Regions from separate parts of the Homo sapiens genome. Here regions 2, 3, 4, 5, 6 and 7 are each linked to region 1. Evidence: promoter capture Hi-C in 16 types of primary human blood cells and fetal thymus (Javierre and others, 2016). All regions are on one chromosome and are shown on one strand. Each heading gives the region's core, a stretch centred on a gene start or on the middle of the fragment in contact. The rest is flanking DNA. Distances are from core to core; before and after follow the strand shown.

The links. The method cuts DNA at HindIII sites, captures the fragments that hold promoters and counts their contacts. A CHiCAGO score of 5 or more calls a contact.
Region 2: a fragment that was not itself captured here is called in contact with the fragment with the promoter of FAM168B in region 1 in 1 of 17 cell types (naive B cells); the score reaches 5.1 in naive B cells.
Region 3: a contact is called between a fragment that was not itself captured here and the fragment with the promoter of FAM168B in region 1, in 1 of 17 cell types (M1 macrophages). The highest score is 5.2, in M1 macrophages.
Region 4: a contact is called between a fragment that was not itself captured here and the fragment with the promoter of FAM168B in region 1, in 1 of 17 cell types (fetal thymus). The highest score is 8.9, in fetal thymus.
Region 5: a contact is called between a fragment that was not itself captured here and the fragment with the promoter of FAM168B in region 1, in 1 of 17 cell types (neutrophils). The highest score is 5.2, in neutrophils.
Region 6: a fragment that was not itself captured here is called in contact with the fragment with the promoter of FAM168B in region 1 in 1 of 17 cell types (M0 macrophages); the score reaches 5.5 in M0 macrophages.
Region 7: a contact is called between a fragment that was not itself captured here and the fragment with the promoter of FAM168B in region 1, in 1 of 17 cell types (M1 macrophages). The highest score is 5.1, in M1 macrophages.

Annotation. Positions count from the first base shown.
Region 1 is chr2:131,091,373-131,095,057 of GRCh38, forward strand. FAM168B (family with sequence similarity 168 member B) reads right to left here and starts at 2,088. Exons shown (of 7, transcript NM_001009993.4): 1 at 1,842-2,088. RefSeq lists a silencer at 1,542-2,261. The HindIII fragment of the contact is 2,381 bases long and covers 1,158-3,538 here.
Region 2 is chr2:134,419,327-134,423,011 of GRCh38, forward strand. It overlaps MGAT5 (alpha-1,6-mannosylglycoprotein 6-beta-N-acetylglucosaminyltransferase), which reads left to right. Exons shown (of 16, transcript NM_002410.5): 13 at 3,477-3,593. Among named protein-coding and RNA genes, the nearest start is that of MGAT5, 170 kb to the left of the region's middle. The HindIII fragment of the contact is 5,580 bases long and covers 1-3,685 here.
Region 3 is chr2:134,400,964-134,404,648 of GRCh38, forward strand. It overlaps MGAT5 (alpha-1,6-mannosylglycoprotein 6-beta-N-acetylglucosaminyltransferase), which reads left to right. Exons shown (of 16, transcript NM_002410.5): 11 at 2,025-2,174. Among named protein-coding and RNA genes, the nearest start is that of MGAT5, 150 kb to the left of the region's middle. The HindIII fragment of the contact is 2,584 bases long and covers 661-3,244 here.
Region 4 is chr2:127,801,603-127,805,287 of GRCh38, forward strand. All of the region lies in intron 1 of WDR33 (WD repeat domain 33), which reads right to left. Among named protein-coding and RNA genes, the nearest start is that of WDR33, 7.7 kb to the right of the region's middle. The HindIII fragment of the contact is 9,275 bases long and covers 1-3,685 here.
Region 5 is chr2:127,875,026-127,878,710 of GRCh38, forward strand. The region is part of intron 2 of AMMECR1L (AMMECR1 like); the gene reads right to left. It also overlaps the pseudogene LOC107985803. Among named protein-coding and RNA genes, the nearest start is that of AMMECR1L, 9.1 kb to the right of the region's middle. RefSeq lists a silencer at 56-135. The HindIII fragment of the contact is 3,899 bases long and covers 1-3,685 here.
Region 6 is chr2:134,302,908-134,306,592 of GRCh38, forward strand. All of the region lies in intron 2 of MGAT5 (alpha-1,6-mannosylglycoprotein 6-beta-N-acetylglucosaminyltransferase), which reads left to right. Among named protein-coding and RNA genes, the nearest start is that of MGAT5, 51 kb to the left of the region's middle. The HindIII fragment of the contact is 1,775 bases long and covers 1,133-2,907 here.
Region 7 is chr2:134,273,084-134,276,768 of GRCh38, forward strand. The region is part of intron 2 of MGAT5 (alpha-1,6-mannosylglycoprotein 6-beta-N-acetylglucosaminyltransferase); the gene reads left to right. Among named protein-coding and RNA genes, the nearest start is that of MGAT5, 21 kb to the left of the region's middle. The HindIII fragment of the contact is 7,130 bases long and covers 1-3,685 here.

The sequences.
Region 1 (3,685 bases), core at 838-3,337:
AGGCCGAGCGCGGTGGTGTCTCCAGCACTTTGGGAGGCCGACGTAGGTGGACCACCTGAGGTCAGGAGTTCAAGACCAGACTGGGCAACATGGTAAAACCCCGTCTCTACTAAAAATACAAAAAATTAGCTGGGCGCAGTGGTGTGTGCCTGTAATCCCAGCTACTCGGGAGGCTGAGACAGGAGAATCCCTTGAGCCCGGGAGGCGGAGGTTGCAGTGAGCCGAGATCACGCCATTGCACTCCAGCCTGGGCGACAGAGCGACACTCCGTCTCACAAAAAAAAAAAAGAAAAAAGAAAAGAAGTTCTCTCCCCCAAACTTTACCTTCATTACCAAGGTTTGGGTTTGCATTTTACTGGGAGGAATTCATGTATTTCTGCACAGTACAATCAGACAGACTTAACAGACTGGACACAAGGCATGAAAAAACTATTACTCTATTACGCTGGTGTACTGTTCTTTTAAAATTGTGCTCGGCCAGGCGCGGTGGCTCACGTCTGTAATCCCAGCACTTTGGAAGGTCGAGGCGGGCGGATCACGAGGTCAGGAGATTGGGACCATCCTGGCTAACACGGTGAAACCTCGTCTCTACTAAAAAAAAAAAAAAACAAATACAAAAAAATTAGCCAGGCGTGGTGGCGGGCGCCTGCAGTCCCAGCTACTTGGGAGGCTGAGGCAAAAGACTGACGTGAATCCGGGAGGCGGAGCTTGCAGTGAGCCGAGATGGCGCCACTGCACTCCAGTCTGGGAAACAGAGGGAGACTCCGTCTCAAAAAAAAAAAAAAAAGTGCTCAATTGATCCAGGAAAAGAAACTGTCTAAGACAACTTGGGTATAATTTCCCTTTAAACTACGGAACTCCACCAAAGTAAGCCTGCTTTGTAAAGACAAAGAGAAGCAAGATCTTCACAATTTCTGCAACACTAGCTTCAAAATTAGAATAGCCTTACACTGCTCAAATCTTGGCTGTCAAAGCAAAAATAACCCACTCCTTCATCTACAAGAGCTTAAAAATGTGTCCTGTTTTTGCCAAAACCAAAAAGTTTTATTTAATCTAGAATCTTTCATCCATAGTATTTGAGAAAAGTGATCTCAAATTACACAAGGATGACCTGAAAGTTTAAGGAGTGGAAACTATATAAACCTTTTTATTTATAAAGCTTCCTTGCATGCGAAAACACTGCAAAATATTCTTGTTTGACTTTAATGATTAAACATTAACTCAAACAGCCCATGAGATGCACACTTCATGTTCACATACACTATAAAACAGAAATACCCTTATTTGTGGACGTCGTAAAGGCGCACTGCACTCTTTTTTCAAAGTTAACCCAGGCTAGGCCACGAAACGTCCTTTCTGAAGGAAATCTTAAAAATCTGTAATTTAAATCGTGCCTTTTCAAGCTGGAAGGAGAACGCTCAGATTCCGCCAAGCAAAAAAATAAAAATAAAAATTATCTTTACTTCGTGGGTAGACAAAGTGAGCAGTTACACATTGGAAATGACTATTGTCACAAAGCTCTGCCCCCGGGTTTCACGCTCGCATTCCTGACGGCTGTGACCCCGACCTTTAGGAGAACGCCCCGCGCCGCGAAGCCACCTCGGCCACCTAGGCGGCAGGCCCGCGCCGCCCGGACCGCACCTGCACGCGTACGTGTCCGGCCGAGCTCCGCCCCCGGCCCCCGCCCGGCCTTGCCCGCGGCACAAAGCGCAGCCCAGGCCGGTCCAGACGCCCAGCGACCCCGAGCCGCGGGCCGACCTTGGCGCCGCCCCGAGCCGGCCGCACAAAGCGCCGCACTTCCGGCCTGGACGCGCAGTCGCCCGCTGCCCGCCCCCACTCACCGCGCCGCGGCGGCGACCTGGGCCTCAGTGACCAGCGCACGCCGGCCCGCGGCGGGCTTGGCCGTGGGGCGAAACAAGGGGGGCGTGCCGAGGAGACCTGCTACGATAAGAGGCTGACCCTCCGAGCCCCGCGTCTCCGCCGCCTCCCGGACGCCGCGCTCCCGCTCGCTCGGCTCCGCTTGGCCCGGCCCGCCTCTCCGCAGCCCGCGCTCCCCGCCGACGCTGCGCAGCCACCGGAGCCGCCGACCTCACTTCCGCCTGAGCGCGCCGCGACGGGGGCGCGCCGGGCACGTGACTGCGCAGCGTGCTCGCTCCCGCCGGCGCCCTCGAGACGCCCGGATGGACGAGCGCGAGCGCGAGCGCGGAGTGGGCCGGTCCCAGTTGGCGAAAGGGCCGGGTGTAGCTGTAGTTTTTTTATTAACTGTCTGTGAAAAAAGTATTTAATTTATATTTTGAGATAGTCCCGCGCCGCAGAAACCTTTGTGTGTGCCCAGACGCCAGGGCGCGGATCCTCAGGCCGCACCCGGGAGTCGAGCACACCCCGGGTGACCGCCACTACGGGGTCGGAGCGGGGCGGAGCTCAGCTCACAGATTCTTTGCCAGTGCGGAGGCTGCGGGCGCCCGCTCAGGAGTGCAGATTTTAGAGAATGCAAGTCAGCGTTTCAAGTGTAGAAGTGCGGGATCATTTCTATAGACAAGAGTTCAGGGAAGTGTACTAGAATGTTAGGGGGTTTTTTGGTTTTTTTTTGAGACGGAGTTTCGCTCTTGTCACCCAGGCTGGAGTACAATGGCGCGATCTTGGCTCACTGCAACCTCCGCTTCCCGGGTTCAAGCGATTCTCCTGCCTCAGCCTCCTGAGTAATTGAGATTCCAGGCGCCCGCCACCACACCTGGCTAATTTTTGTGTTAGTAGAGACGGGGGTTTCACCATGTTGGTCAGGCTAGTCTCGAACCCGTGACCTCAGGTGATCCACCCACGTTGGCCTCCCAAAGTGCTGGGATTACAAGTGTGAGCCACCGCACCCGGCCAAATGTTAGTATTTTTATGTAAGGCTTAGTGTATAGTTACAATGATTTGGTTAGTTCAGGGTGTCTCTCTGGGGGAGGTATGTTTATTATTTCGTATTAAAGAGGTGCGTGTCTTGGTGTTTGTGTTTGGGGTGTCGTCTGGTCTGAGCTAGGTACAGGACGACAAAGGAGGGAGTTATTGCAATAAAGATTAGTGATGGAAGGGAGGAGGCCTGGCTCTGGTCTTTTTTCAGTCGTTTATGAAATAAAAACAGATGGGCGCGGTGTCTCACGCCTTTAATCCCGGCACTTATAGGAGGCCGAGGCGGGCAGATCACGAGGTCAGGAGTTCAAGACCAGCCTGGCCAACATAGTGAAACCGCGTCTCTACTAAAAATACAAAAATTAGCTGCGCGTGGTGGCGCACATCTGTAACCTTAGCTGCTCTGGAGGCTGAGGCAGGAGAATCTCTTGAACCCGGGAGGCGGAGGTTGCAGTGAGCCGAGATCGGGCCACTGCACTCCAGCCTGGGCGACAGAGGAAGACTCCGTCTCAAAAAAAAAAATAAAAATAAAATATAAATGTGATAAAAGGACAAGAAGAAAACATGGGGAAATTCCTTTTTAGTATTGGAGTAAAGAAGGCTTTTCTACATTATTACTTGAAATCCAGAAGTCATGACTATGAAAAGCTTTGGTCGGCAAAAAGCACCATAAGCAAAGTCAAAAGATAAATGATTAACAAGGAAGAAATAGTCCCAACACATGTAATAGACAAAGCTAATCTCTTTAATATTCCAAAAGCTTCCAGAAGTCAACAATAAAAAGCCCTACCAC
Region 2 (3,685 bases), core at 1,186-3,685, 3.3 Mb after region 1:
GGTTATGTTTTAATATAAACTGGATTTTTATCTTTATATTGGGAAACATATGAGTAGGTTCTCGATCATTTTTCTGACATTTTTTAAGCCATTAGAAATACTCTGGCTTCAGGGTTTGTGTGTGTGTGTGTGTGTGTGTGTGTGTGTGTGTGTGTGTGTGTGTTTCCATAAAGAGAACTCATGTTCTCCTTGGAGATTTAATAGCCACTCTGAAGTAATGTCTCATATTTAATAAGATTTTCATTACTTTTACAAACTATACTCCAGTAAATTTATTGATTGATATACAATGAAGTATCTTAGATCAGATGGTTCTCAATAAATAGCAAGAAGGAACGTAACATTCAGAGGGGAACTAATGAATCACAAAATGCCTCACTCATAAAGCTAAGTAACCTTCAGTAAATGTAAATGAACAAAAGGATAATAGCTCAGCATTTTGTATTTTCCAAGTGCTTGGAGCAACCTTGTAAATAAGCAGAGACCTTAAAAGGCAGGAGAGGAGGGAGACTGCTGACATGTAAATTACTAAATAGTGACATTGATGGCAACTTTAACTTACCCTGATTCCGTCAGAAAATCTAATCAGTTCTCCAGGCCACAAAATGAAAATGATGTGACATTTTGCTCATCTTCAGAAAATACAGGCATAAATTCAGTCCTGAATTTAGGTTGGCAAGTTGTAAGAGCTGGATTAAAAAGCTGGTGTTTACATTGGGCCTTTGTCTTAAGAACTTAAAGACATCCTTTAAAATTGTCACCTTCCTTTTTATCCAAAGCTAAGAAGTTGTTGAAGGACCTAGATTTGAAGTTGGCTCTTCTCCTTTCCAGCTGTGGGGTCTTAGGGGAAATGTAATCGCCTCTCAGTCTCAGAATCGTCATTGATGCATAATAAACCTGAGAAATAACGTTTGTGCAGGTGATTAGCAGGAAGCGTAGGGCTTCCTTGGTAAGTGTTGAATTCAGAAGTGTGCAGAGAAAAAAAAATGGAAGTTTTCTGAGTTCCGTGGGCCTGCAGAGAGTCTGTAGCTTTTATCACTGACCATAGAGCTGAGCCGAGGAAGACAGCACCTGTCAGAAGGGCGGGAAACTGAAGAGACTGATGACGGGCTGCTGCTGGATAGAGGCCCAGATAACCTGCAGTCAGCAGAGGCTCACTGCTGGGCCCAGGGACTTGTCGGGCTTCCTGCCTTGAATAGCACATGCATGCTCTTGGTGTGGCAGGATACAAAGAACAGTGGCTAAGGGAAAGACGGAGGGGTGCCAGTTAATTCCTCTAGCCCTGTGAGTATCCTGAGGAAAAGAGGAGAGCCAGCTTGACCTCCAAAGCAAAGGCCTGAGGAGAAGAGAAGAGCCAGCTTGACCTCCAAAGCAAAGGCCTCAGCACTGGCAAACCCAATATTTCCTATTGTTATAAATATGAGATGAAATTTGTAAATTATATAACCTTGCCTACCCGTGTAATTTCAAAAGGGAATAATTCTCTAACAAATATAAAGGAGAAATAAAAGGAAAAGAATTTCTAATAAAGCAATACATATTTCAGTATTATGGAATCAAGAACTGTGCTGTCCCATACCCAACAGCTATACCAGGCACTATGATGCCTTGTTTCTCCTCACAATGAGTGTTTTTATTTAAAAGGAATGAAACATTCAGCTGAATATGGTCAGCCTTTTTACTTAAAATTGACATTATGAAGGAGGAGCGAAGCCTGAGTGTGTTTACGTATGCCCACATATAAATAGAATTGCCAGTAATGTGATAGCTCCAAATATAGACTAATGTGGGTATGTTTTACTGGAGACTCTGACATCCTCAGTGGCACTGACTTTGTTGCTTTGATCTTTCTGAAATGATGACAGCTCATTGGTGACGTTTCAGATAAAACAGAGCAGAGACATTGCTTCATTTACATGGTGATTATGTCTCTGGATAATTCAATGTATGTTTGAACTGTCAAAAAGTTAGATTCTGACTGGGCATGGTGGTTCATGCCTGTAATCCTAGCACTTTGGGGGCTGAGACAGGTGGATCACTTGAGGCCAGGAGTTCGAGACCAACCTGGCCAACATGATGAAACCCCATCTCTACTAAAAATACAAAAACTTAGCCAGGCATGGTGGTGCGCACCTATAGTTCCAGCTACTCAGGAGGCTGAAGCAGGAGAATTGCTTGAACCCAGGAGGCAGAGGTTGCAGTGAGCTGGATCATACTACTGCATTCCAGCTGGGGTGACAAAGCAAAACTCTGTTTCAAAAAAAAAAAATAAAAAACTAGATTCTCTAAGCCCACGTGAAAGCCCTGCAGGCCATTTGAAAGTTTCGTGGGCAGTGGACAATTCTTCCTGTGCAGGACTGTCCTTGGACATTGTGAAGTGCTTATATCCCTGGTTCCCACCCACAGACTAAGGGTAACATTCTCCAGTTATTATGGTAGCTGAAAATGCTCTCACACGTGGCTAGAATGCTCCCTTTACAACATGACCTTAAAGGGATATGAGGACAGAGGTGGAAACAAAATCAGGGGATAAATTTAGCTGTATTAAAGAATGGACTCAACTGAGCACAGTGGCTTGTGCCTGTAATCCCGGCAGTTTGGGAGGCGGACACAGGAGAATCATTTGAGGCCAGGAGTTTGAGACCCACCTGGGCAACATACAGAGACCGTGTGTATACAAAAAAAAAAAAAAATTGTTTTTAATTAGCCAGGCATGATGTGCACATCTGTAGTCCCAACTACTCAGAATGCTGAGGCAAGGTGATCTCTTGAGCCCAGGAGTTTGAGGCTGCAGTGAACTACGACTGGGCAACAGAGCAAGACCCTTTGGGGAAAAAAAAGAAGAATGGACACTTCATGAATTCAGAATTGTCATGGTTTGCACTTGGTTTCTTTGACCACATGTTGTTTTTAAAATAAAACCCCCTTTAGGACAAAAACTGCCATTCCTTGTTTTTCTGAATATTATGCTAATTATTATTCCTGAAACCATCCCAAAAATTCTGTGTATTTCTGATGGTGTCATTTTTTTCTATCACCTTTTGTATGCACCATGACTTAGCCTCCTGGGACTTTAAAAGCCTTGATTTTTCTTGTAATTGTCTATGCTGACCTTTCTGTCTTAGCCAGGAGAATAGATACTGGTTTGATCTAGTAATAGGTGATTTTCGGGGCTGGGTTCTGGGTAGGAGAAACTGTTCATCATTTCTTGATGTGATGTTGGGGGCTAAAGCCTCCTGTAGCAGCTTCCTTGTCACCTGGTTGTGACATTATCTTATTTCCAAGTGGGATTCAAGGTACAGAACCATCACTGTTTTGTTATCTGCTTATGGATGGTTTTGATCATCAAGGGGAAGGACACAGTGTCTTGTTACCTACACGATTATAACTCAGTACCATAAAAAGCATAGCACTCCATCTAGCACAGGTTATTTTAAAAATTGCTTGTGAGACTGAGGTGTTCGGTTCTTTTCCAGCTGACATCCCAGCATCCTTACGCTGAAGTTTTCATCGGGCGGCCACATGTGTGGACTGTTGACCTCAACAATCAGGAGGAAGTAGAGGATGCAGTGAAAGCAATTTTAAATCAGAAGGTTGGTTCATTTTATTCCACTTTCCCTCCTTTCTAATGTGACCTGAAATGTGTATAAAACACATCATAGGTCCTTGTTTTTAGCAAACAGAT
Region 3 (3,685 bases), core at 703-3,202, 3.3 Mb after region 1:
GGGAACCACTGTGGGTGGGATAAGAACCAGAGTGGCTCCAGGCCCTAGTTTTTTCTCCTCTGTCTCTCTGCTTTCTTTTCCCACTCTCTTCTCTCCCCTTCCTTCTCCTTATTCTTCTTCTACTCCTCTTTTTTTTTCTAGCTCTGTGTCATGCTTGCAGTGGTGATGTTTTGGTTGTAGTCATGCTCTTGGGTCCCTCTTATGACCGACTGTCTGCGTCTTCCCCTCTCCTTTAGCCTTTACTTGGTTCTTTTCCCAACCCACCCGCCAAAACTGGCAACCAGCTTCCTCAGAACTTGTTATCTGGCTCGTAATTGCCCAGACTCCAACGCTCAAATGACCTTTTTGCTCTAAAGCCAGTGGCCATCTGGCAGTAATCTCCCTGTATACAGGATTCTGAGTTCCCAAGAGAGCATCTGGTTGGCTCCCCTTGCCTTCCTGAGTCTGCTACATCATTCCTGGGCTGCTGGCCAGCCTAGGAGTGGGTCCCCTCAGGTCAGACACACCCTGGGCAGGTCAGCAGCCAGCAGTGGGCACAGGGTAACAGAGCCCCCTGCCTACTTAACAGGAGCTGTGGGTGGGGGCAGGAGTTACCAGATACATCTAGCACAAGAACCATATCCTAGAACCCTTCAAACTAACATATGCCAGGTAGGTGTAAGCTTCTGTACTAATTTAAAACTATACATTTCTAAGTTAATGAATTCAGCATCTTGCGGCCATACCAGACATGGCATGGAATTAAACTTTCAGTCCCACTGTTCATTTTATTCATACATTAGGGTGGCAAGGGTGGTCTTGCTCATTGCAAGCAAAGTCATCCTGGTTCATGAAATGAAGAATGTGGACTGTGCAGTTTTCCCAGTCATGAAGACTTTTGATACATCACTTGAAATGTTCCTCCTGAAGTTGAGGGTCCTTTGTAATATCACCAGGGCAGTGAATGGCAGAGACCAGATCATGAATCGCTTCATTTAGAGCCTGCCTCCGGGCTTCCCTGCACTCTGTGGCTGCTAATACCACACCCCTGTGTCCCTTGTGGTCTTAAGTCACAAAACCAGCTATTATTAGATTTGCCTGGAGTGTCTGAAAACAGGCTTAGAATGAGGAAACCTTGTCCCACTTTTATACAACTGGAAAACATTACAGAATTTGACTTTTTGAAAATTTCCCAAAAAAAGGAAAAGAAAAACCCACAAACCCCAGCTTGTACAGTTTAGTCACAGGGAAACACAGAGGTAAAAAAGGTGAACTTGCTTCCACTTCACAGGTGGTTTTGATTTAGAAAACGTGCCTCAAAATTCAGTGCCTACAAATACAAGAAAAGGGGTTTGGTTGTGCTTCTAATAGTATAAGTAAAATTACTCTTGAATGTTTCAGGGCTCATCAAAATTTACATTTATTCTCTTTTTTCTACTTTTATCTACCTGAGTATTCTCATTATCTCTCCAGCTGTGAGAAACTCTCATCTTCCCATGATCCCAAATTAGGTGGGATCCAGTTCTGACAACATGAGTTAATCATCACTAGAAACATTGGCAAGAGCTGGGGAATGTTTGTATTCCTCTGGGACAGCTTAGCATCTCTGGGTAAATGTTGCAGTCCAACTGACTGCCTTCCCCGGGCTGTCCTTCCCCAAACTTCCTCTCCTAGAGGTAGGAAGAGCCAAAATCAACTGTTAGGTCTGTGGTAATTTACAAAGCAAGGATGATATTTCAAAACAGTTGGCTATATAATGTATTTCCTCTTGCAAAATTATACAGTTGGTATTCAGTAATATGTTGCCATATAATGTATTTCTTCTTAAAAAATTATACAATGGCTATATGACTGTTTATGTCCACAAAGTCCAGCCAGATTACTTTTCAAAGAAATTTTAGCAGTTTGATTGCCAAATTCCTGTGATCTCCATATTAAGAACTCTCTGTCTGTGGCCTCTAGTCTTAGAAGTTCTAGTCCATGATACAGGTTGTTATGCAAATGAAAGAAAAAGAGAAATGTCTTGTGCTTGTTTTCTTCTTTAGAATAAGAAGATCTACTTGGACATTATTCACACATACATGGAAGTGCATGCAACTGTTTATGGCTCCAGCACAAAGAATATTCCCAGTTACGTGAAAAACCATGGTATCCTCAGTGGACGGGACCTGCAGTTCCTTCTTCGAGAAACCAAGGTAAAAATTCACCACGGATGTGGTGTTCAGGTTATTGCCATTGGCTGTGAAAATGGGATCAGAATATTTCATGCTTGTTTTTCAATGCTGCAATAAACTCTTGTGGCTATTTTGGGGCAGCAGTTTGCTAGACCAATGGCAGCTGAAAAGTAAGTGAATTGTGGAATGAGATTGCTACAGTTTTTTTCATTGATTTATTCAAAAATCGTATTTACTAAGGACCTACTCAGTGTTAGGTGTCAAGCAAGGGGCTAAGGATAAGGCTGCAAATGGAAAAGGTAAAGCCCTGCCTGGAAGGACAGACTTTCTAATAGAGCAGCAGCTTTCATAGTAAGCCAGGGGTGCTGAACTCTTCCCCCAACCCAATCATCACTGTTCAAGGAGTGGGTTTCCCAACCAGCTTTTCCTCATACCTCCTTGTTCACCAAGTACGCATTGGACAGTGAAGAAGTTCAGATGAGGGCAAAGTCCCTGTGGGCTCAGGAAGCAGAGCAAGCATCAGGAGAGATGCAAGAGATGAAAGATGGATGGAGTGTAGACACACCTGGCATGTGGGCCAGACAGGAGTTAGAGTCAGGTGGTGGAGGTGGAGGTGGCATATTCAGGAAAGAGCTAGAAGCCAACCCAGCTAGTCTAAGTGTTGAAAAATAGTGGAGGTAAAATTGGATGAGGGAATGTGAGGGTCTGATTGGCACAGATGGAGGCAGAGTTCACACCATGTGGTGGAGGTAGCCGGGCAAGCCCTTGAGGATCATTTTGCTCAGCAGTAGCATGATGACGTGTTGCTTTGACACTGTAGGGAAGTCCACCCAGTGGTCTGTGTTTTTTCTGTAATGGTGCCATGGAAGTACCAAATGAAGTTCGGGAACTTGTGAAGAAACCAGAGTTTGGCCTTGAAGGGTTGGCTGGCATTTCAGTGTATTAGATAAACTCCCTCAGGTTTATTAATAAGTTTTTATGAATTTCACAAATATTTATTGAGTAGCTGCAATGTGCTAGGCGTTGTACAAGGGATGCAAGTGTGAAGAAGGCACATGGATCTCTCTTGTGGTATGTCCTAAGCACAAGGAAGCTTATTTTCAGTAGTGGATTTCTCAGCTCTCATCTCTGGCTCGCTTTGTTTTCATGTTCAAGGTAGGGGAGAGAGGTTGAGCAGGTGGACTTCTAGGGCATAATCTCAGTTGTCCAATCATTATGTGATACTTCATTTATAAAAAGTGTATTCACATATGCTATCCTCTTTGATTCTCACAACAGCATTAAGAGGTAGATAGAGCAGGTATTATTGTTAACTTTATTTTGAACATGAGGAAATAGGCTACAGAGTTTGGCTTGCCCACAGTAAACTGGGGTCAAGTCCTGGAGGTGGCCCTAACTCATGATTTTTTTAATTGCACATTAAAGCTCTGCTAGCCCCTTGATGTACTATCGTCATAAACACTCAAACTTAAGAACTCTTAGTGGACACCCACTAGCCAAAAGAATGTATATCTCCTCTTTGCCTCAGTTTC
Region 4 (3,685 bases), core at 787-3,286, 3.3 Mb before region 1:
GAGCCAGGTGCAGTGGTTCATGCCTATCTCAGGACTTTGTGGAGCGGAGGCATGTGCATCACTTGAGGTTAGGAGTTCAAGACCAGCCTAGCCAACATGGTGAAATCCCATCTCTACTAAAAATACAAAAAATTAGCTGGGCGTGGTGGTGCACACCTGTAGTGCCAGCTACTCGGGAGACTGAGGCAGGATAATTGTTTGAACCCAGGAGACGGATGCTGCAGTGAGCCGAGATCGTGCCACTGCACTCCTGCCTGGGTGATACAGTGAGACTCCATCTCAAAAAAAATGGTTAAGGCCAGGCACAGTGGCTCCTGCTTGTAATCCCAGCACTTTGGGAGGCTGAGGCAGGCAGATCACTTGAGGTCAGGAATTCCAGACCACCCTGGCCAACATGGTAAAACCCCGTCTCTACTAAAAATACAAAAATTAGCCAGGTGTGGTGGCATGCACCTGTAGTCCCAGCTACTCAGGAGGCTGAGGCAGGAGAATCACTTGAACCCAGGAGTGAGCTGAGATCACGCCACTGCACTCCAGCCTGGAGGAGAGAGCAAGACTCCGACTCAAAAAAAAAAAATTAAGACAGTAAAATTTTGCTATGCATTTATCACAATTTATAAAAAAAAAAATCAAGTGTCACAAGCATATACAGCATGCCAACTTTCTTCTAAGAATGTGAAAATAAGAATATACACAGTAAAAACTGGAATGAACTCCAGAGCTCAGAGACAGAAGCAAGACTTAACTACTTTTTCTTCAGCCTCCGTCTCCTGGGTGCAAGCAATTCTCCTGCCTCATCCTTCAGAGTAGCTGGGATTACAGGCATGTGCCACCACGCCTGGCTAATTTTTGTATTTTTAGTAGAGATGGGGTTTCACCATGTTGGCCAGGCTGGTCTCAAACTCCTGACCCCAGGTGATCTGCCCCCCTCGGCCTCCCAAAGTGCTGGGATTACAGATGTGAGCCACCACGCCCAGCCAGTACTTTTTCAATATAGTATTTAATTTTATTCCTTCTTGGTCACAGGTGCTTAAAAATTTTTTTTCAGTAGATTTTAAACCATGTAAATAACGTATTAAAAAAACTAAATTACGTCTGGGTGCAGTGGCTCATGCCTTGTAATCCTAGTATTTTGGGAGGCTGAGGAGGGAGGAACCGATGACCCCAGGAGTTCGAGCCCAGACTGGGCAACATGGCAAAACCCAGACTATACCAAAAAACACAAAAAATTAGCCAGGCATGGTGGTGCGCACTTGTCGTTCCAGCTACTTGGGAGGCTGAGGTGGGAGGATCACCCAAACCTGCGAGGTTGAGGCTACAGGGAGCCAAAACTGCACCACTACACTCCAGCCTAGGTAACAGATTGAGATCTTGTCTCAAAAACAAACAAACAAAAAAACTAAATTAAGAGGGAGAAAAAGCAAACCCTAATAATGAATACAAACAAAAACTGTGAAATTTGATAATCAAAATAAACAAATTCAACAAACAAGCTGAAAAATGTTATTTCAAGTAACTTTTGAAGAAAGTTCATCTTTAATGCAGTATACGCTAAGAAAAAAAAGGACTGGAAAAAAAACTGCACTTGGTAGGGTTATTGTTAGTAAAATACTGGCATTATAAATCTGACTCTGTTTTCTGTGTAGAAAATGCCACTAATGTTAACTTTGATTAGGAATTTAAAATACCAATGTAGGCCAGGCACAGTGGCTCACGTCTGTAATCCCAACACTTTGAGAGGCCAAAGTGAGCGGATCACTTAAGGCCAGGGGTTCGAGACCAGCCTGGCCAATATGGTAAAACCCCATCTCTACTAAAAATACAAAAATTAGCCAGACGCCTGTAATCCTAGCTGCTCGGGAGGCTGAGGCACAAGAATCGCTTCAACCCAGGAGGCAGAGGTTGCAATGAGCCAAGATTGCACAACTGCACTCCAGCCTAGGTGACAGAGGGAGACTGTCTCAAAAAATAAATAAAATAAAATACCAATGTAAGCTGATGATTTTTAATATCATGTTTTCTAGCTCTGTCCACTGAAAAGGGCATACAAGCAAATGCATACACCACCAAGCATCCAAATCCTGGTTTATAAATAATATTTTCTACCAAAAGAACTGGGACTCCTTGGAGAAATGGGAAGATACAAAAGGAAAGGAAAAGACAAGAAGGACTTGGGTTATTGTTTTGCCAAAAAAGCAAAGGAGCCCTCAAATTAACTGGGGTTAGTGCCAGGTGCTTGGGAGACTGAGGTAGGAGAATCACTTGAGCCCAGGAGTTCCAGGCTGCAGGCAGCTATGATCTTGCCACTGCACTCTAGCCTGGGCAACGAAGTGAGACCCAGTCTCAAAAAAAAAAAAAAAAAAAAAGACCAAAAGCAATAAGGGCCAAATACCTGCTCCTGCTTAAAGACTAAAGAGATACGAAATATCTAGATTGGGACCGGGTGCGGTGGCTCACACCCGTAATCCCAGCACTTTGGGAGGCCGAGGAGGGTGGATCACAAGGTCAGGAGATCGAGACCATCCTGGCTAACACGGTGAAACCCTGTCTCTACTAAAAATACAAAAAATTAGCCAGGCATGGTGGCGGGCGCCTGTAGTCCCAGCTACTCGGGAGGTTGAGGCAGGAGAATGGCGTGAACCCGGGAGGCGGAGCTTGCAGTGAGCCAAGATCATCCCAGCCTGGGAGACAGAGCGAGACTCTGTCTCAAAAAATAAATAAAAAAAGAAAAGAAATATCTAGATTGGATACTGGATTAGAGAAAGAAAAATTCTGTGAGATGTTACTGAGACAACTAGAGAAATTTGAGTATGAATTTTCAATACTATATAAATGTTCAATGTCCAGAATTAGTTAATATTGCGGGTACTTAACTTGTTCTTGAGCAGAGAAGTGCGGAGAAGTGCATATCTGTGAATAACACTAAATGGCTCCGAAAATAATACATGAGGGGCTGGGAGGCAGGAAGGGAGGAATAAAGCAAATGTGACAAAATGTTAAAAATGGGTGAATCAGAATAAAAAGTACATAGGAGTTCTTTGAACTATTCTTCCAACTCTTCTGTTAGTTCATATTTATTTCAAAATTTAAACATTTAAACACGAAAGGGGGAAAGCAAAAGCTCTTTATTACAGAAAACAGTTAATGAATATAAACAAATAACAAAATTAGAAAACCCCCAATAAATGACTCAGCTAATAATCATCAATCATTAAGTGAAAAATATTTTGAGAAGTGAGGTACTCACATGATGCTAAAGTTATCACCCCACAGATCAAGTATAACTGCAAAGGGAAAAATATACCTCTTTGATGAAGAAATCCAATGGACACATTAACCAGGTAAATTTGGCATTGTAAATAACGCAAGCTAACATCTGGCAGTCCCTACCACCTTATTGAAGGCTCATAGCTAGAAGTATATCCTCACAACATAAATCACGTATCATCACCTGTGAAGTTTTTTCTTTTTTTTTTTTTTTTTTTTTTTTTTTTTGAGACAGGGTTCTCTTGTCGCCTAGGCTGGAGTACAGCAGCAGGATGTCGGCTCACTGCAGCCTCCACCTCTCTGGCTCAAGCCATCCTCCTGTCTCAACCTCCCAAGTAGCTGGGACTACAGGCGCAGGCCACCAAACCCAGCATTTTTTTTTCTTTTTTTAAAATAGAGACAGGGTTTTGCCAAATTG
Region 5 (3,685 bases), core at 679-3,178, 3.2 Mb before region 1:
GGTGGCAGTTTCTGCCCTGTCATAGCCAGCCAGACAGATACAAAGCCACCCAGCTTAACAAAATGTGGTGTCACATGGGCTGGGGAGCCACAGCCTCCTCCCAGCTGATGATGCGAAGGGAAGGAAGGGATTTTTTTTTTAATTGTTTTTTTCTTTAAAAGCCCGCGGTAAAAATGTATAGCCATAACACAACTAAGGTCCTCTCTGTTGTCTGAAAAGTGTCACTCCTCAACAGAATCAGGAAAATAGAGCCTAGTTATTTCAATGTTGACAATACTGAAGTTTCTAAGTACAGAAAACTAAGTTTTCTCTCAAGTCATTGTATGTTATTGTTTTGGCTGGAAAGAGAGAGAAAGAAGGGCAAGTGGGGGGAGGGAGAGAGAGAAGAGAGATTTGCGCTGTCCTACCTAAATTTTCCCCTGTGATTTGGACATGTCATATAATTATCTTTTTAGGCATTGATCTACAAATAGTATTTCAGGTGTAAATTCTTCAACCTTTTAAATTTCAAATTAAATATTTACACACCCATCTGCAATGCCATTATTTCTAAACAACTTGTCACTTTACGTTGAATGATATAAACATTTTACAAGGATTATTTATGTTCTTCATATATGCTGATCCATAACAAAATACACATCAAGGGCATTTCCGATTGAGATCAAAGCTCTCTGTGGCCGAAGAATAATAGCTTGTACATTCTCATGCCTTGCTTGAAATAGGGGCTTCTCTCTTTCCCTCTCCTCCCCTCTCCTCTTCTCTCTCTCTCTCTCTTTTTCTTTAAGAGACAGGTCTCATTCTGTCACCCACCCTGGAGTGCAGTGGCACAATCATAGCTTACCACAGCCTCCAACTCCTGGACTCAAGTGATCCTCCCGCCTCAGCTTCCCAAAGTGCTAGGACTGCAGGTACACACCACTATGCCCAGCTATCTTTTTTTTTTTGGAGATATGGGGGTCTCACTATGTTGTCCAGGCTGGTCTCAAATTCCTGGCCACAAGGGAGGGATCCGCTCCCCGCCCCGCCCCCCCACCCGCTGGCTGGACACAGTGGCTCATATCTGTAATCCCAGCATGTTGGGAGGCCGAGGCAGGAGGATTCCTTGAGCCGAGGAGTTTGAGACCAGTATAGGCAACACAGGGAGACCCAGTCTCTACAAAAAATAAAAAAAATTAGCTGAGCATGGTGGCACATGTCTGTGGTCCCAGCTACTTGGGAGGCTAAGGAGCGAGGATTGCCTGAGCCCAGGGGGTTGAGGCTGCAGTGAGCTATGACCATGCCACTGCACTCCAGCCTGGGCAACAGAGCAAGGCCCTGTCTCAAAAAAAAAAAAAAAAAAAGGTGGTAGGGGGGCGGTGCGGTGTGCGGTGGGGATCCTCTCACTACAGCCTCCCCAGTAGCTGTCATTATAGGTGTGAGCCACACCTGGCTTCTTTTTGAGAAAGTCTTACATACTCAATATAATAAAACCTCCAATGACTACACTGTTTCTGACCATGGATGTCACTGTCTTATTTGGACTGTTGAGAGGGGAAGCAGAGTGCCTTGGTTTTTTAAAATGCTGCCTCCAAAGCCAGGTGGCCTGGGCTCAAATCCTGGTTCCTCCACGATTAACCTCTTTCTGCCTCAGTTTACTCAAAACAGGAATAATAATAGTATTTGCTTCCTAGGGTTAGGTGAATTAAATGAGTTTAACATATGTAAAGAGGCCAGGCGCCCTGGCTCACGCCTATGAACCCAGTACTTTGGGAGGCCGAGGTGGGCGGATCACCTGAGGTCAGGAGCTTGAGACCAGCCTGACCAACATGGAGAAACCTCATCTCTACTAAAAATACAAAATTAGCTGGGCATGGTGGTGCATGCCTGTAATCCTAGCTACCCGGGAGGCTGAGACAGGAGAATCACTTGAACTCTGGAGGTGGAAGTTGCAGTAAGCTGAGATCGCACCACTGCACTCCAGCCTGGGCAATAAGAGCGAAACTCTGTCTCCAAATATATATATATATACATATATATATATATATATATGTACATAAAGGGCTTAAAACAGTGACTAGTATGTGTTAAGCATCAATACTTTTAGCTGCTCTTATCATCTGGGTTCTTGTTCCACTGTTCTCTAGGAGGGCAACTCCTGGGGGGCCAGTACTTGGCTGTGCACTCTGGGCTTACAGCAGAGCTTGCACAGAGCACACACTCTTCAAAAAGGGCTTCACTGAATCCTCTAAAGCACTCAACAAGGCAGATGATGCTACCATCATTTTACATTTTACAGCATCCACACTGCCACTAAGTGGCAGCGCTAGAATTTTTTTTTTTTTTTTTGAGACAAAGTCTCACTCTGTCACCCAGGCTGCAGTGCAGTGGCATGCTCTTGGCTCACTGCAACCTCTGCCTCCCAGGTTCAAGCAATTCTCCTTACTTGGCCTCCTGAGTGGCTGGGACTACCAGCACGTGCCATCATGTCTGGCTAATTTTTGTATTTTTAGTAGAGATGGTGTTTCACCATGTTGGCCAGGCTGGTCTTGAACTCCTGACTTCAGGTGATCTGCCCACCTCAGCCTCCCAAAATGCTGGGATTACAGGCATGAGCCACCGCACCTGGGCCAGAACTAGGATTTAGATCACAATCTATGTATCAGGCTGTATGGCCTGGAACTACAAGAAAGAATGAGTTCTGCCAATAATATCCACTGGATTCAGTCTTTCTTTAGGGCAGGATTAAAAAATAAATAAATAAATTCTGGGCTGGGAGTGGTGACTCACACCTATAATCCCAACACTTTGGGAGGTCGATCGAGGTGGGAGGATGGCTTGAGCCCAGGAGTTGGAGACCAGCCTGGGCAACAAAGTGAGACATCTGTCTCTACATAAAATAAATTAGCTGGGCATGGTGGCACGCACCTATGGTCCCAGCTACACAGGAGGCTGAAGCAAGAGGATCCCCTTGAGCCCAGGAGGTTGAGGCTGCAGTGAGCCATGTTTGTACCACTGCACTCCAGCCTGGGTGACAGAGTAAGACCCTGTCTCAAAATAAATAAATAAATAAATAAAAATTTAATTTCTAGGGTATGTTAAGAACTAATCTAACAGCTTATAGAATCTTGCCAACAAAAATGGAGCCAGGAAAACAATATGAAAAACCAAGCCCAAAGTCAACATCTCAGCCATCACCTGGAAAATTATCCCCTCATCCAGGGTCATTTGAATCCACGATGGGTGTCACCAGCCTGAGTTCTCACTTGACTCTACTTTGTGTGCAACTGTGGGCAGCGAGCTAGAGATACAGGTCAGATGAAGCAGCAGGACCGCATTCCCAGAGAGCTGGTGTTTTAATAGGGCTCTGAGGCTCTGCACCTCTAGAGCCTCAGAATTCAAAGAATCGAAGGGAAAGAATAAAATGCAAAAGCTAAAAAAACCTTTCATCATTCTCATTACACCAAACCACACCTGAAGGAAAAGCTAAATGTCGTGAGATAGAGGCAACAACTCAGACATTCTCTTCCAGGTGGTATCAGCCACCTGACTGGTGAAACACTCCATCACAGAGCAACAGAAGGGATTTTCAAACCACACCAATGCAGATGAACTCAAGTCCAGAAGATTCTGCCTACATGCCACATACAATCACTGATCCGCAGTGGGTCATAATCACAGTTGATTTTACACAGTTGTGTTTACA
Region 6 (3,685 bases), core at 770-3,269, 3.2 Mb after region 1:
TAAATGTGATTGTCTTTATCTTGTGGTTCACTGAATTGCTGGATCTGAAGTTAATGTTCCTCAACATATTTGGGAAGTTGTCAGCCATTATTTCTTCGAATATTTTTTGTCTCTTTTCTCTTTTCTACCTCTGGGCATCCGTTTACACAAAGGTTCGCCTACATGATGTTCTCCACAGGTCATGGAGACTCTATGTGTTTTATTTGTCTTAGTCTTGAATGTCTCTGTTTTTAGGTTAAGTAATTTCCTTTTTTGTTTTTCAAATTTACTGATCTTTTATTCACTGATGACCGTTTTTCCTTTGTCTTTAATCTTATTTATAATAACCGCTTTAAATTCTTTGTTAGTTCTCCAACAGTTGCGTCATCTTGTTTTTGTTGACTGTTTTTCTTGCCTTGTTCACGTTTTCCTGTTTCTCCACATGTTTAATAATTCTTTATTATGTATTGGACATGACAAGGATATGCTATAGAGTGTCTGGGTTCGGTAAACTTCCTCTGAAGAGTACTGATTTTTTTTCTAGTAGGCAGTTAAATTACTGACTTACTGCCTTGAACTTAAGAAGACTTGCTTTTATGATTTGTTAGGGTGTGTCTGTTTCCATTTTTTTCCCTAGTCTTGGACCATCTGAAGTCCTGGGCCTGATGTGAGGCCCTTCTGGGGTTTCATGGAAAGCCTGAAATGTTGACCCTTTGACTTTTTGGGGTTTAAACTGTGGCTGCCCTGCAGTGAGCAGCAGCTGAAGTCTTGTGAATACTTTGAACTTTTATTGGAGCCTCCCTCACAAATGCTTAGTTTTAGGGTCGCTCAAGAAGTTTAAGGTAGTTTATATACAGACTTTGGGGTTCTCCTCTTTGGGCTCCCTCTTTTTGGGAATATGCTACCTTAATTTTTCACTACTATGCAAAACTTCATTCTATGAAACCTCAAGCCAGTGAGACTGTAGCCTTTTGTTTGCTACCTTCCAGACTTGATAGTCCCCTCTGGGGCACAGCCATATAAATGTGAGTCTTATTCAGTGTAGTTTCCAGAAAGAATTTAAGGATCAAATCCCTTCTAGTTTCTGCTCACTTTCCCTCACTCTTTAGTGTCATATTGTAAGTGTTATCTGTGGGAAGATTGTTCCAATACAAGCTTCTCTGCTATTGCCAATGCATAGTTTCTCTGCTTTGTTTTTAAAGAATCCTAGGTTAACTGTTATGTGGATCTTACACAGGTAGTGTAGTTTAGCAGCGTGCTCTGGGCTGGGAAGCTGTCTGAATTATCTGTTACCACAGTGCTGCCTTCCCCCTGGTTTTGGTATGCATGCTAGCTCTTTTCTGTTAGGTACAATATACAATAACCACCATTTCTAGGTTGGCAAGGACCGTATGTATTTAACAGTTGCTCTCCTATCCGGATGCCATGGCTGGAGGGTAAGCAAGGGACTGCACTTTATTCTGGATACTGGGATGGTGAATGGGTTTTCAGGTAGTAATCCCACCACCTGAGGATCAGTGCCTTCTAAGAGCTAACTCAAAAACCAAATATTCATCTGGGAACAGACTACTTGCTGAAACGAACAAATTCCCAGGCAGTTGAAAACCTTTGTGTTTCCTACTGGGAATAACCTGCATTCACAAATTCATTAGCCTTTTATGTGGAGTTGATGAATAGCATTCCAGGATTATAAGAATACTTGTAACATCCCAGAATATGCACATTAGTCTCTTAACTTTACAAGCAGAGTATTGGTATCCAAATTTACATGGTCTTAACACAAAGCATGTTCTTTTCTACATGAAGGAATACCTGCTAAGGGCCGGGAGAAGTTCTAAGGAATTAAGTTGTAAGATAGCCTGATTTTTTGTTTTTTAACATGTCTTGCTATGTTGCCCAGGCTGGTCTCAACCTACTGGGCACAAGCAGTCTTCCTGCCTCAGCCTTCTCAGTAGGTGGGACTGTAGGCATGCACTACTGCACCTGGCACAATCTGGTTTTTAAGAGGCATCCTAGCCAAGGACATTACCTAGCAGGCTTGGCATGTATATTTTATGCCAATGGCTTGTAGGTTTCATATCACTCTGGATCAGTCACAGTAGACTTACAATTTAAATAGCTTTTAGCCTTTCTTCAAACCGTACCCAAGAATTTGTTGTGCTTGTGGGTGTTTGAAATATTCTGGCTTTCAGCTTCTTTTATACATTCTCTCTGTCCTACTTTCTCTAGGACCAAAACCTTATTATCAAGGTGTCATCTCAATTCTGCATTATCTTGCAATTTATTTTTCTGTTTAAAAAAGTAAGGTAAGAGACCACAACCAAGCAACCAAAACAAAATGAAAACCTCAGTTTATGCGAGACGGTGAAAACAAAAATTTTTCTTGATCTCCTGTTAAGAGAATAGTCGAAGCACTTCCGCCTTGCCTCTAGATGTCTGGCTGGCCAGATAGAATCCCTGTTTCTAACCAACAGCTATAAGACGCTTGTGACAAGTGATTCAGAAAGTGGGCATTGTGTGATATGAAGAGCACACACCTATTTTGGGCAATTTATACTATCTTAAAACAGCCCAAGGATATAGCTAGCCTTCTCTCAGTTATTGATTCCATATTTCTTTTCTTCTTCAGTTGCAAAAAGGAAATACAAATATACACACATAAACTACATGTATGGCTTTGCTTTTCATTTTTAACAAAATCCAAACTCAAGACACCTTTGACAGTTTGATAAGAACAGGCAGAAATCTATGAACTGTGCTTAACATGGAACCCTGTTTTAGAAGAAAAATCAAACCTCTCTTTGAGAGGTTGAAGTGAGATATGGGTGCTCTGTGTTGCAAGGGCATGTCACTGTTACAGTAAGTTATCTGTGTAACACCCTTTCCTTCTTCTAGTAAACTGCATGTGAGAAGAGGGGACTTGGCAAAAGCTTGGCACTATTTTGTTTATTGGAAAAGGAGAATCGTTATAAATATCACCTTAGGCCCCCAACTCGAGAATATAATACAGTTTTGCAAGTATCTTGAATTTTTAATGTCTCCCACCTATTTCTCAGTATATTTTCTTAAATCAAAATTGACAGCTGAGGTTGTCTCAGTATGTTAGCATTATATCTTATTCTTTTAAATGTATGTATAGAAACTTTTTTTTCTGGGAATATATCTGTATAACTTTTTGTTTGTTTTGATGTATAAAACTAGCATTCTCCTAGTTTATTTCCTATTAGGCCCATTTGTTGTAACTAAGTACATATATGATACCCACGTGGAATATTTCATATCCTTTACATCATTACTTAAAATACTAAGGAACATTTTGTTGCAGAAGAAATGATAGCAAAAATTAAATATAAACTTACAGAAAATGGTATTTACATAGAAATGAATACATGCAGAGTTTTGCATTAAAAAGCACTCTAATTATCCAAACTATATTACAAACTCAGTTTTGTCTTCCAGTCTCAAAGCTGCTAGAATATATATAGCATACACTGTTTTGCTATTATATTCATTGAAAAAGATCTAAAGCATTTTTGTCGTTGACTATACCTCATACCCCACCAAGCATTGTGACAAAATTAATTAGGGACGGACAAGACAGGCACAGAGAATATACAATAGGACGAGTATATTGTACAAATAGATTAAATGATCTAATGAGAGCTAGTGTGTGATGTTTCAGTGTGGTGCAGGCAATCTCTCCTTC
Region 7 (3,685 bases), core at 743-3,242, 3.2 Mb after region 1:
AGTGGATATAGATATGCTGGACAGCCTTCTTCATTTCCCCCAGAAGGTGGGGGGGGGTCCTTTATATCTTGTCAGTCAACTACATATTTTTAAAAAACGATTTGCCATGTCTATAGAGTACCAGAAAGAAGGACAAGGACTTAAGTGAACAGTTCTCATTTATGAGCAGCCCTTCCTTGCTTTTCTGCCCTCTCTCTGATCCATAACCATGCTGATGTCTTCAGACCCCTCTGTCAACCCAAGAATGGCTCCTGAGCTGTGAGAGTTCAGTTTTATGGGGTTCCAATCCTCGCCAAGTAAAGTTTTTCTCTCTCCCTTCCTGAATGGAGACATGCGGTAATTGCTCAGAAATGTTCTCCCTGGTGTGTCTTTACAGCTGACTCTGGTGTCTTATTGCTCACTGATGTTTCTGATTGCTTATTGTTGTGTCTTATTGCTTGCTAATATATCTTCTGGTTGGCTATAAACTGTCTCTAAATTGGGTACCATAGCAATTGAAGAAGGATTCCCTAAATTTATTTTCTTTAGGGGGATAGCTCTGTGTGTGTGTGTGTGTGTGTGTCTGTGTGTCTCCTTATTTTTTCTCTCTAGCTGTGTTCTGTGTAGCTTTTATCCAGTATGGCTTATCTTCACAAATTTATCACCGAGGGTTTTTTAATGTGAAAGTAAATTTGCCCCTAGGGAAATTTAGGTGGAAATGAGCTTTATTAAAATCAAGAAATCAGATTGAACTGGATTTTTGAGCTCTGTTTGTCTTGTTGAAGAGAAAGGGGACTCAAAGGAATGAAAAAGCAGATTTTTAAAATCCCCACCCTTCCACCAATCACACAGTAAATTAATTTCTCCATATTCACTTTCTGAAAGGGCTTGAAGGGCCTTCGTCAAAATTCTCTCCTTTTAGAATGATGCTTTGAATTTTAGAAAGACCCATTCTGTCTTTCTCTAGTTTTGTGATCTTAAGTGAGGAAGTGGAGCGAATAGGATTGGATCTGTGGTTCTTTGTCATGTACCTGAAATGGGGAAAAGGTAAAAAGTATACATATCTGATCATGAAAATGCTTGCCTTCTAAGGACTGAATGTCTGATATATCTTTGTTCTGCCCATAGTGTCTTGATTGTAGCCTTACCTGTTGAAGATAATTCAGTAAATATTGCTCACATGGATTGGTTTCTATTGGAGGGAACAGCATTTGGTTTCACCACCTGGAAGAGTTTCTTCTTATAGTTCTTCTTCTCAATTTACATTTGTGGTGATTTGCCTAGAAGTCGGACTTGGTATTTCGTTTCCCTAGTTCTCAGACCTTAGCAGACACCGCCTAAGAAGTGGGACTGCCTTTTTTGTTGGTCAGGACTGAACTTCCCATCAATGGTTATGGGATGTGGAGGCTTCATAGGATGTGATAGTTACAATCCTAGATGTGATAGTTACAATCCTAGATTGTGATACTTTAGAGGACAAGAACATTGTGTAGCTCTCTACGGGGTAGTGTATGTATGTGCATGTGTACACATTTATTTATACTCTCAATAAAGAGTTGTCATTCAAGGTCAGCTGAATAACTGGCCAGTGCTGACTGTTCCTTAAAAGCCAAAACCATAATGATAGCATCCAAGTGGTGTTGTGATGACTTAATAATTGCAAGGTCACTTGGGAAGCAGAACCACAAAATCAAAGGTACAGGTATAACTCAAGCGACAGTTTCCTGGTATTTAATCCAAGTTGAACTTACAGCAACCCTGCATTTTTTCCAAAGTGGGGAGCGATATGCAACACTTTCTAGTATTTGGGGTTGAAGTGCAATGTATTTGAATTTGGAAGCTGTTCTTAAAAACAGCAACCATTATTATTATTCTTACCATTTGAAAGTTGAAAATGAAAAATGTCCCTGCTGAGTTCCAGGGCTTGCATTTGGAAGTGCAATTTCCCCCTCTTTGTGCTGCTAATGGACCTTGAAATTTAGTTGTACCTGTGCTCTTTCCTTGTATGTGTACCCATGTCATCAGTTTGTGTTGAAGTAGCACCTGAAGTGTCCCAGCTCCACCCCTGGGCAGTGGCTCAGCAGATGACTTTCCCAGGGTCAGATACTGGTATGTCAGTGAGATCCCAGATGCTACTGAGAGACGGGAGAGAGATGAGATTGCAGGTGGCTTCCTATTAAGTTGAGCAAGAAGCAAATATGTTCTGTCTATCTACCTGTCACTTTCTGTTTTGTTATTTGCAATGGTAACAATAAATATGTGGACCCTTGTCAGAAGCTATTCTTTTGGTATCTTTACAGAAAAATGCTTGTCTTTGTTGGTATGGTTTTCACTTTGTGTGGTCAAGGATATTTTGTTTTTATTTAGAAGAAGAAAGACAGTTCAGAAGTGATGGTGATCTTTGAGGAAGTGAATTTATAGCAGTGATTAACAGCTGTGGGCGATTTTGCCCCCAGGGGACACATGTCAATGTCAGGACACATTTTGGTTTTCACAAATGAAGAGGTGCTATTTCCTTTTTTTTTTTTTTTTTTTTTTTTTGAGACAGTCTCGCTCTGTTGCTCAGGCCAGAATGCAGTGGCACTATCACAGCTCTTTGCAGCCTCGACCTTCCATGTCCCCACCCCCTGCCGCCTCAGCCTTCTGAGTAGCTGGGACTACAGGCAATGTGCCATCATGCCCGGCAAATTCTTTTTTCTTATTTTTTGTAGAGAATGGGGTCTTGCTATGTTGCCCAGGCTGGTTGGGCTCCTAGGCTCAAACGATCCTCCCACCTCAGCCTCCCAAAGTGCTGGGATTACAAGCATGAGCCACTGTGACTGGCCTATTTATTTCTAATAGATGAGGACAAGAGATGCTGCAAAAAGCATCCTACAATATATAAGACACTGCCCATAATAGAAGTATCCAGCCCCAAATGTCAATTGTGGCAGGTTTGTGAAATTCCGATCTATGAGATACTGTTAGAATCTGGTGCCAGCAGATATTTTCACCTATGGTTAGTGCAGAAAGACGCCTGAGACGCTGAAGTTTCCTGATTGCCAGCTGAGACCTAAAGTTCCTTTCCCTTTTCCTAGCAAGGCTGTTCACAAGCCCCCCCACCCCCGCCGCCCGCCAATCTCCACCTCATTTAGCTTTGCCACTGGTCTTGGAGGCCTCCAAGGAAAGAGATTTTAGAAACTCCCAGAAGACTATTTTAGGATCCTGCCCTTAAGGAACTCCTTTCCTGGCCCACAGTGTGCTTTTGGCAATGTACATTTTACTTCTGCTTCTATAGAAGGTAATTATTTCTTCTCGTGAAAGGACCACTAATTCCGGATAACAATGGTACAAAGTAGTCTTAGAGAATGGGTTTAAATTGCAGAATGTTTTAGAAGAAATTCTTTGTTATTTTAAGCAAAGTATATAATTATCAAGATATGAGAGAGTAAATTAAATAAGTTAAAGAAAACAAGACAGGTCCCCAAAGATCTACTTTACATCAGAAAATACCCTTGACAGCATACTTGGAGCAATATTGAAGAAAATGAGACTAGAGAGTTAATTGGGATTTGTGATGCATTTTCAATGTTAAATGAAGGAGTTTCTATTTTGTTCCCTGGGCCGTGGCAGTTGATGAGAGGTTTAAAGTAGGAGGATGAATAGGTGTGAGGTCTGTATTTCCAGAGAATAATTATGGGCCATGTGGAGTGAAATGCATATGAAT